Regions from separate parts of the Homo sapiens genome. Here region 2 is linked to region 1. Evidence: promoter capture Hi-C in human tissues and cell types (Jung and others, 2019). All regions are on one chromosome and are shown on one strand. Each heading gives the region's core, a stretch centred on a gene start or on the middle of the fragment in contact. The rest is flanking DNA. Distances are from core to core; before and after follow the strand shown.

What was found. Contacts are between HindIII fragments. The study calls those that stand out against the background at their distance.
Region 2: a contact is called between a fragment that was not itself captured here and the fragment with the promoter of FLII in region 1, in 1 of the 25 tissues and cell types used here (spleen).

The regions. Positions count from the first base shown.
Region 1 is chr17:18,256,545-18,260,884 of GRCh38, reverse strand. It overlaps FLII (FLII actin remodeling protein), which reads left to right and starts at 2,147. Exons shown (of 30, transcript NM_002018.4): 1 at 2,147-2,257; 2 at 3,866-3,976; 3 at 4,288-4,340. The coding sequence starts at 2,195. MIEF2 (mitochondrial elongation factor 2) reads right to left here and starts at 223. Exons shown (of 4, transcript NM_139162.4): 1 at 148-223. RefSeq lists enhancers at 536-665, 2,275-2,776, 2,776-2,855, 3,515-4,181 and silencers at 2,056-2,455, 2,466-2,605. The HindIII fragment of the contact is 13,885 bases long and covers 1-4,340 here.
Region 2 is chr17:18,565,349-18,570,191 of GRCh38, reverse strand. It overlaps the pseudogene CCDC144BP. Among named protein-coding and RNA genes, the nearest start is that of FAM106A, 41 kb to the right of the region's middle. RefSeq lists an enhancer at 173-906. The HindIII fragment of the contact is 3,931 bases long and covers 1-3,288 here.

The DNA.
Region 1 (4,340 bases), core at 898-3,397:
TTCGAACGCTGCCCTTGGTCCCCCAAAGGTCCCCTCCCCGCCTTCCCCAGCGGTGATCGCGGGCCACGCCCCCGATCTGCGTTCCGTCGCGCGCCAAGCCCCGAGCCCGGTGACCCTGGGGGCCGCCCCGCCGCGCTCCAGCTGTACCTGCGTCGCAGCTTCCGCACGACGACCGGAGGAGGCAGCGGGACCACGGCCCCGGAGCTCAGACCAGCCTGGGAATGGAACGTGAAGGACCCTGGAACCCAACGACTAGGGCCCCGGGGGCAGCCGCGGACTTCGCAGCACGCAGACAAGCAGGCCCTAACTCCAATCGGAGCGCTCGAGTCCAGCGCACAGGTGCCAAAATACTGCGCGGTTCAGCCAATGAAGGGCAGGTCCCGCCCCCCAGCCGACAGCCGCACTCCCTCTGGGGCGGGACTCCCTGACGCAGTCTGGATTTAAAGGTGCAGGGCTGCATTCCGAGACCGCGAACAGGTGACGTGACAGGCGACCCTCCAGGACGTCTGTGCGTTGTAATGTGAGCCTCCGGTGTGGAGGAAGCTGTCTGGGCCCCGTTCCTTCTGGGGACCAGGTAGAGAGGCTGCACATGGCTAGAGGCCCGGCACATCCAACCTCTTAGGTCACCTCTGCGAGAGAGTGTCTTGGTGGCCTCATTCTTACCTGTGGGCCTGAGGGGCACAGCGCCTACCCCTGCCACCTGCTCTGTGCGAGCTTGTGTGGGCCATTCTCCACCTGGGCATCAGTTTTTCTCCTGTAAAATGGGGACACTAGACCCCCTCCTCCCCTGCGAAGGATGGTTGGGCATATAACAGCTGTGGCTCATTTATTGGGGTCCTGCTATGTGTCAGCCAGGGCGAGCCCCCTTGAACAGCAAGGACCAAGACGGATGCTTCTCTTCTGGAGCCTCCCTTTGTAGGGGGGTACGAGCACAGGGGTGCTGACACTAAGTGGGAATAATAACCTGGCGCACAAAACAAAACAAAACGGAATAATAACCTGCCACTCACTGAGCGCCTGCTGTATGCTGCGAGCTACACGTGCATTCTTTGTTAATTTGCTCATGGTGACAACCTTAGAAAGTATTTTACAAATGAGGAAACTGGGTAGGGCGCGGTGGCTCACGCCTGTCATCCCAACACTCTGAGAAGCTGATACCAGAGGATCACTTGAGGCCAGGAGATCAAGACCAGCCTGGGCAACATAGCAAGCACCCCGTGTCTACAAAAAGTATAAATAAGGCCGGGCGCGGTGGCTCACGCCTGTAATCCCAGCACTTTGGGAGGCCGAGGCGGTTGGATCACGAGGTCAGAAGATCGAGACCATCCTGGCTAACACGGTGAAACCCCGTCTCTACTAAAAATACAAAAAAAAAAAAAAAAAAAATTAGCCGGGCGTAGTGGCGGGTGCCTGTAGTCCCAGCTACCCGGGAGGCTGAGGCAGGAGAATGGCGTGAACCCGGGAGGCGGAGGTTGCAGTGAGCCGAGACTGCGCCACTGCACTCCAGCCTGGGCGACAGAGCGAGACTCTGTCTCAAAAAAAATAAAAAATAAATAAAATAAATAAATTTAGCCAGGTGTGGTGGCCTGCGCCTATAATCCCAGGTAGTCGGGAGGCTGAGCCCAGGAGTTCGAGGCTGCAGTGAGCTATGATCACACCACTGCACTCCAGCCTGGGCAGCAGAGCAAGAAGACCCTGTCTCAACAAAACAAAAACAACACATGAGGAAACTAAGTCCAGAAGCAGGAGAGCTAGGACCCGAGGATCCAGGTGTCTCACTACCACCGGTCAGCCAAGTACAGGCACTTCCTGGGCCTCTGCGCCCCGGGGCCGAGGTTTAGAATCTCTCTGAGGTCAGGGCCAGCTTCATGTGCTGCAGCAGCGCAGGTGACGGTGCCTCGACCAGCGGCCGTTACGGCCCCTGCCCTGGGGCGCTGGGACTTAAGCCTGGAGATCGTGGAAGCCTCCAACTCCAGCACAGGGGGGGCCCGCACTCCTTGGTGCCTCCGCAGTCTTCGAACAGACGGGGAAACTGAGGCCCTAAGAGGCCTAAAGCCTACACTTCCCCGCGGAATGCGGCGGGCGCGGGCGGGTTAAAGGGGCGGGGCCGGCGCTGGCCCAGCCCGCGGCTCCCCCCAGCGCCCTCGCCCCGGCGCTCCCTAGCCCGGCGCGGCCCGGCAGCGAGAGCGGCGCCATGGAGGCCACCGGGGTGCTGCCGTTCGTGCGTGGCGTGGACCTCAGCGGCAACGACTTCAAGGTGAGCCGGGCCGGGCGCGTGCCGGGCCTCCCTGCAGGCCTTCTCTTCCGCCCGGCCCGCTTGGCCTCCGCTTCCTGTCCCGCTCGGCTCCAGGCCCTGCGTGTCCCAGGGACTGCGGCCGGGGCGGGGTGGGGCTCTCCCCTGGCCAGGAATGGACCTCCGAGGCCTCCGCCCAGTGCCTGTACGGGGAGACCGAGGCTGGGCAGGCCGGGGACGGACGCTTGGGCTCGGAGTCCCGCCGGGGGCCCGGCCGGGAGCCCCCACCCCGCGTCCGTGTTCTCGGTCTAGGCTGGATGGTGGCCTGGGGATCGGGCGAGCCTCCCCGCCCCTCTGAGGTCACACGCCCAAGCCAGGCCCTGACTCAGGGATGGCTGCCCGGCTGCCCAGGGGCGGGTGTGGAGCCGACTCATCACTGCCCTCTCCCCGCCACCGCCACCCGCCATACTGTGTGATCCTGGGCCTCTCAGATCACTTCCCCTCTCAGAGCCTAGGCTTTCTCAGCCGGTGAAGGGGCTTAAAAGTCTCCTCCTTGGACGCAAGGAGTATAGTGAGATTTGTTGGTGTGGAGAGTGTGTCAGGCCGGTGTGCCAGGTGCTGGGTGGCAGTTGTCTGAGCAGCTGCTGGACTGAGAGAAAAGGGACCGGAGCCCAGCCCTCCGCAGCCAGTGGGTGGGGCGGCGGGGTGGTTCCAGGACTCAAGAATGAGACAGGCATTGCCTGACCAAAGGGGAAGCAGAGAAAGAGAGGGAGGGAGAGCTGGCTGGAGGGTCAGCCTCACCTTCAGGGTGGGTGACTGGCAGGGTCGGCCTGGGTTGTTGGTCTGGGGCTGGGGCCGAGGAGGCAGGTTTTTCCTGCGTTTACCTGCCTGTGTACACACCTTTGACCCCAAGTACAAGTGGCTACACCACTTTTCCCTGACCCCATCCCCACCACCCTAACCTGGGGTCCCCGTTCCTCTTTGCTGAACTGGGAGAGTCCGAGTCACCAGCTGGGAATGTGGCGCTAGGGGGAAAGGAATATCAGCCGCAGGCACTGAAGGCACCTACTGCCCCAGACTTGGTGCCACAAGGGCTGGAGGTGCCGAGGTGGGCGTTCACACACCAGGGGAGTGCAGTGATGCTGGCCTGCCCTGCAGGGTGGGGAGCCACGGTCTCCGCAAGCAAGGGTTTGACCCTGGCCGTGAGTTGCCAGTGTGCTGATGGCAGGATGAGGGCACAGGTGGCGCCTTTGCAAAGGCTTGGAAGGGGGATCCCCCACCCCAGGCAGCCAGTCAGAGTGTGGAATGCTAGGTGAAGGAATTTGAGCCGAGCTAACCACAGAGCCGGATGCTGGGCTTTCACCTGAAACAAGCCAGTTTTGTCCTGGCCCTCCTGGGGCCCAGAATCCAGTAGGAGAGACAAATCTTAGGCCAACACTTTTGTCACGGGGGGGCTTAAAATTCCCATTCTATGGGTGAAGAAATTGAGGCACAATGATGAAATGACTTGTCTGTGTTCTCACAGATGGTGAGAGTTGGTTCTGTGGCTCCCCAAAGGCTCCCATGGGCTGGAGGAGCCATAGAAGGTGGTGAGCAGGGGCTCTGTGCTTCACCTTGACATCCTTCCCCCAGGGCGGCTACTTCCCTGAGAATGTCAAGGCCATGACCAGCCTGCGGTGGCTGAAGCTGAACCGCACTGGCCTCTGCTACCTGCCCGAGGAGCTGGCCGCCCTGCAGAAGCTGGTAAGGGGGTTTGGGCGGGCAGGGGAGGGTCCCTGTGGATGAGCCAGGTGGGCAGAGCCTGTGGAGAAGGCAGACAACTTCTCCAGAGAGAGGAACACCGACAGCTATGAGCAGAGCTGGAAGAAAGGGAGTGGGCACCCTGTCCAGGGAGGTGTGCAAGAAGAGGCCGGGTGAGTGAGGGAGGGAAGCTGCAGGGGTAGTTGGGCCAGTGTGGCTGAGGCCTTCCTGGATGGTGCAGAGTTGTGGAGGCAGGCAGGGACTCTGGACACCCCACCCACCCTGCTGAGCCTGTGCTCCCCATTCCGGCCCAGGAACACTTGTCTGTGAGCCACAACAACCTGACCACGCTTCATGGGGAGCTGTC
Region 2 (4,843 bases), core at 74-2,573, 310 kb before region 1:
GGGTAATGTGATGCATCAGGCTTGGTTCTCTTTGCTTAGGATGGCTCTGGGTGTTTGGGCTCTTTTCTGGTTCCATATGAAATTTTAGAATAGTTTTTTCTAATGCTGTGAAAAATGACGTTAGTAGTTTGATAGGAATGGTATTGAATCTGTAGATTGCTTTGGGCAGTATGGCCTTTTTTTTTTTTTTTTTTTTTTTTTGACTTAGTTCTTTTCCTTTTAATAGCAACCTAGCACCTCTGAGAATCAGAAAGATAGGGGAGGGCGCTTGGAGCACCAGCTGCACCAACGCTGGCAGGATGAAAATATTTATGCACCAATGAGGCACTAGCTGCTTTCAGAGACCTCCTTTGAACTGTTAATCAAGCCCAATCTTTCAGAATAATAGCCTGATTATTACCGCCCTGTTTGCATAACAAAGAAGCCCAATAAGACTTACTTTGCAGTGCACGAGGAGGTGTGAAGGATCGACCCTTAGAAAGGAGTCCTAGGAATGCAGTGAGCCGCTGCAGAGCCTGAACCCAGGAATAAAGACAATGCAATTTGCCACCAAGAAAAGCTCAACAGACCAATAAATTACCCGCGTGCAAAGGGATTAGATCAGGTTTCAGTTACTGTGTAGGAGGGGTGGGGTGAGCCGGAGAGGGAAAAGACCTGCCCTCTCTTAAAGGGGTAAGGCTCATTTTGAGTGCAAGCCCCAGGGTCAAGCTGTTTTTGTCCAACTCTGTGGCCTGCGTGGGAACTGCCTGAGTTCAGTTACTTGCTCCAAGTTCTGGACCCTTCTATGTGCCGGGCACTGTGATTAATGCTGTTTCTGGAACAAACCCCAGTTAATCTCTGCGCTCAGGTATGGTCAATCACAGAAACTTCTAGAATACAAAGCAAACATGTTTCATCTCAACACTTAACAGCAACAAAGGTTTAAGAATGGAAGTACGAGAAGGTATCAGGGAAGTAGCATTTCAACGAAGTCCTGAATTTGACGGGTGATGAAGGGCAAAGATCTGACGACAGGGACCTCCAGAACAACTGAGCTTGGCAGGAGGTGACATGCTGGCTGGTCAGAGTGTAGCCAGGAGTTTGGGGCCAGACACGGAAACCTAGAGTGCCACCTGTGCCCATTAGGAAGCAAATGTCGCTCAGCTTCAAACCACTTTGCTCTCTGGTGCAGGGATTCTGCAAACCCCATCTCTTTCGTCTCTGGGTTCCCTGTTAAATTTCCCCACAAGGGGACACTAGATGGAGAAGGGAAGGTGGGAGGCAGGAGACAGGTTTACCTGCCATCCCCAAGGCTGTTTCTCCCACCACTTACCAGCAGCGGCCCTTCTTCCCCATCAGAGACCCGGGCCCTCCTCCAAACCTGCCTTCCTTCTGTCCCTCTGGCTGCAGGGGTGGAAGCTGCTTCTGCCACTCTCTGTCCCAGCGGTCTCTCTTTGCCCTTTCAGTCTTCCCACGCCCATAACAATGCCCTACACGAAGTTCCCTCTGCGGAAACATCCCAGGTGGGTTTCGCTTTTCTGATTGGACCCTGGCACGCCAGCCTAAGGATTTCTGCCTTTTTCCAATAGATGGCAGGGAGCCCCTGAAGCATTTTCAGTGAGCACCCAGGGCGTGATCAGAACACTATTTTAGGAAGCAGTGTAACTGAAGAGGCGATGGCTTCAATTAGGATGGAGGCAGGCGGAGGGAAGGGAGGGAGAGCAGCTTAAAAAAGAAATCACTGCCAGCGCCTGTGGAGACACTAGCCTTGAAGCCTCAGACCTCCCATGTCCCCTTCCTCACTGTCCACCTAGCCTGAGCGGCAGATGCTGAGTTGCCCTTCTTAGCCACATGGTATGTCCCCCGTTCAAAGGAGGTGGAGGAGGGAGCACTGAGCCAGGGGGCTGGCCAGCTCACACCCAGTGAGACTCACGCTGCCACCCCTCCCCACCCTCTCCTGTCCTTTGTGCCTCAGTGCTGGATCTCACAGGGGACAGGAACAGACGGACCACCCATATGTGGCAAACTCTGGAGTATGGCCATTTTAATGCGATTGATTTTTCCAATTCATGAGCATGGAATGTTTTGCCATTTTTTTGGTGTCATCTATTTGGTGTCATGATTTTTTTTCAGCAGTGTTTTGTAGTTCTCCTTGTAACCACCTTTCATCTCTGTAGTTAGATGCATTCCTAAGTATTTTGCTTTTTTGTGTGTGGCTATTATAAATTGGATTACATTCTTGATTTGTCTCTCAGCTTGAACTTTATTGGTATATAGAAATGCTATGGATATTTTTACATTGATTTTTGTGTCCTGACTGAAGTCATTTATCAGTTCCAGGATAAATTGGCAAACTCTTTAGAGTTTTTTAGGTACAGAATCATATCATCAGCAAAGAGAGATAGTTTGGCTTCTTTTCCTTTTTGGATGGCTTTTCTTTCTTTCTTTTTCCTGATTGCTCTGGCTAGGAGTTCCAGTACTATGTTGAATACATACGGTGAGAGTGGGCATCTTTGTCTTGTTCCAGTTGGCAAGGGGAATGCTTCCAACTGTTTTTGTTCTTTTTTCTTTAATTTTTTTCTTTACTACTTTACAGAGACAAGGTCTCACTGTGTTGCCCAGCCTGGTCTCAGACTCCTGGCCTCAAGTGATTCTCCTGTCTTTGCCTCCCAGCATGCTGGGGTTACAAGCATGAGCCACTGCACTTAGCCCCCACTTCCAGCTTTTGCCCATTCTGTATGGTTTCAGCTGTGGGTTTGTCATAGAGTGGCCTTTATTATTTTGAGGTCTGTTTCTTTGATGCCTAATTTGTTGGGTGTTTTTTTCATGAAGGGATGATGGACGTTATTGAAAGCTTTTTTGCATCTTTTGAGTTGATCATATGGTTTTTCGTTTTCATTTTGTTTATGTGGTGAAACACATTTATTGATTTGTGTACTTTGAACCAATTGCATCACAAAAATAAAGCTGACTTGATTGTGGTGAAGTAAGTTTTTGATGTGTTGCTGGATTTTGTTTGCTGATATTTTATTGAGGACTTTGGTGTCTACATTCATTGGGAATATTGGGCTGTAGTTTTCTTTATTCATTGTGTCTTTGCTGGCTTTTAGTATCAAGATGATGCTGGCATCATACAATGAGTTAGGGAGAAGTATCTCCTCAATATTTTGGAATAGTTTCATTAGGTTTGTTAACAGCTCTTCTTTGTATGTCTGGTAGAAATTGACTATGAGTCAGTCTGATCTGAATCTGTTTTTGGCTAGTAGGTTTTTTATTACTGATTCAATTTCAGAGCTTGTTATTTGTCTGTTCATGATTTTAGTTTCCTCGTGGTTCAATCTTTGTTGGTTTCCAAGGATTTATCCATTTCTCCTAGATATTCTAGTTTGTGTGTATACAGTGGTGTTCATTGTAGTCTCTGAGGATCTTTTGTATTACTATGGGATTGGTTGTAATGTCATCTTTGTTGTTTCTGATTGTGCTTATTTAGATGTTCTCTGTTATTTATTTATTTATTTATTTATCTAGCTAGTAGCCTATCAGTATTTTTATCCCTTCAAAAAGCCAACTTTTGGTTTCACTGATCCTTTGTATGGATTTTTGGGCCTCAAGTTTTCTCAGTTATGCTCTAATTTTAGTTATTTCTTTTCTGTTGCCAGCTTTGGGGTTATTTTGTCCTTGTTTTTTAGTTCCTCTCGGCACAGTGTCAGATTGTTAATTACAGATCTGTCTAACTTTTCAACATATTTGTTTTGCACTATAAGCTTTCCTCTTATGCTGCTTTTGCTGTATCCCAGAAGTTTTGGTATGATGTTTCTTTTTGCTTATTACAAATCATTGTTTGATTTCTGCCTTAAATTCTTTCTTTTCCCAAAGTCATTTAGGAGCCAGTTGTTTGATTTCCATGTAATTGTGTGGTTTTCAGAGATCTTCTTGGTATTCATTTCTATTTTTATTGCACTGTGGTCCAAGAGAATGGTGTTGTGTGATTTCATTTTTTAAAAATGTATCATGACTTGCTTTATGGGCAAACATGTTGTTGATCTTGGAGTATGTTCTTTGTGCAGATGAGAAAAAGGTGTATTCTGTAGTTGTTTGGTGGAGTATTCTGTAGATGTCTGTTAGGTCCAATTAGTCAAGTGTTAAATTTAAGCCCAGAATTTCTTTGTTAGTTTTTTGTCTCAATGATTTGCCTTAACACTATCAATGAGATGTTGAAGATCCCCACTGTTATTGTGTGACTGAGTCTTTTGGTAGGTCTGGAAGTACTTGGTTGTTTTTGAATGTGGGTGCTCCAGTGTTGGGTGGGTATATATTTAGGTTAGGGATGTCTTCTTGGCGAAGTGAGTCCTTTATCATTGTGTAATGCCCTTCTTCATCCTTTTTTGGCTGTTGTTGGTTTAAAGTCTGTTTTATCTAAGAATAACAACCCCTTGCTTTTTGCATTTTATTTGCATGACAGATCTTTGTCCATCTCTTTACTCAGAGCCTGTGGGTGCCATTACATGTGAGATATGTCTTTTGAATATAGCAGACTGTTGATTCTTATTGGTTTGTTTTATTTTAATTCAACTTGCCACTCTGTGCCTTTTAAGTGAGGCATTTAGACCATTGAATTCAGTATTAATATTTATATGTGAGATTTTGATTCCGCCATGATGTTTTTAGCTGTTTGCTTTGTACTCTCGATTGTGTAGTTGTGTAATAGGGTCTGTGGGCTATGTACTTAGGTGTGTTTTTGTGGTAGTGGGTATTGTTCTTTCTTTTCCATATTTAGAACTCCTTAAGAATCTCTTGTAAGTCTGGTCTAGCGGTAACGAATTTCTTTAGTGTTTGTCTGGAAAAGATTGTATTTCTCTGTCAC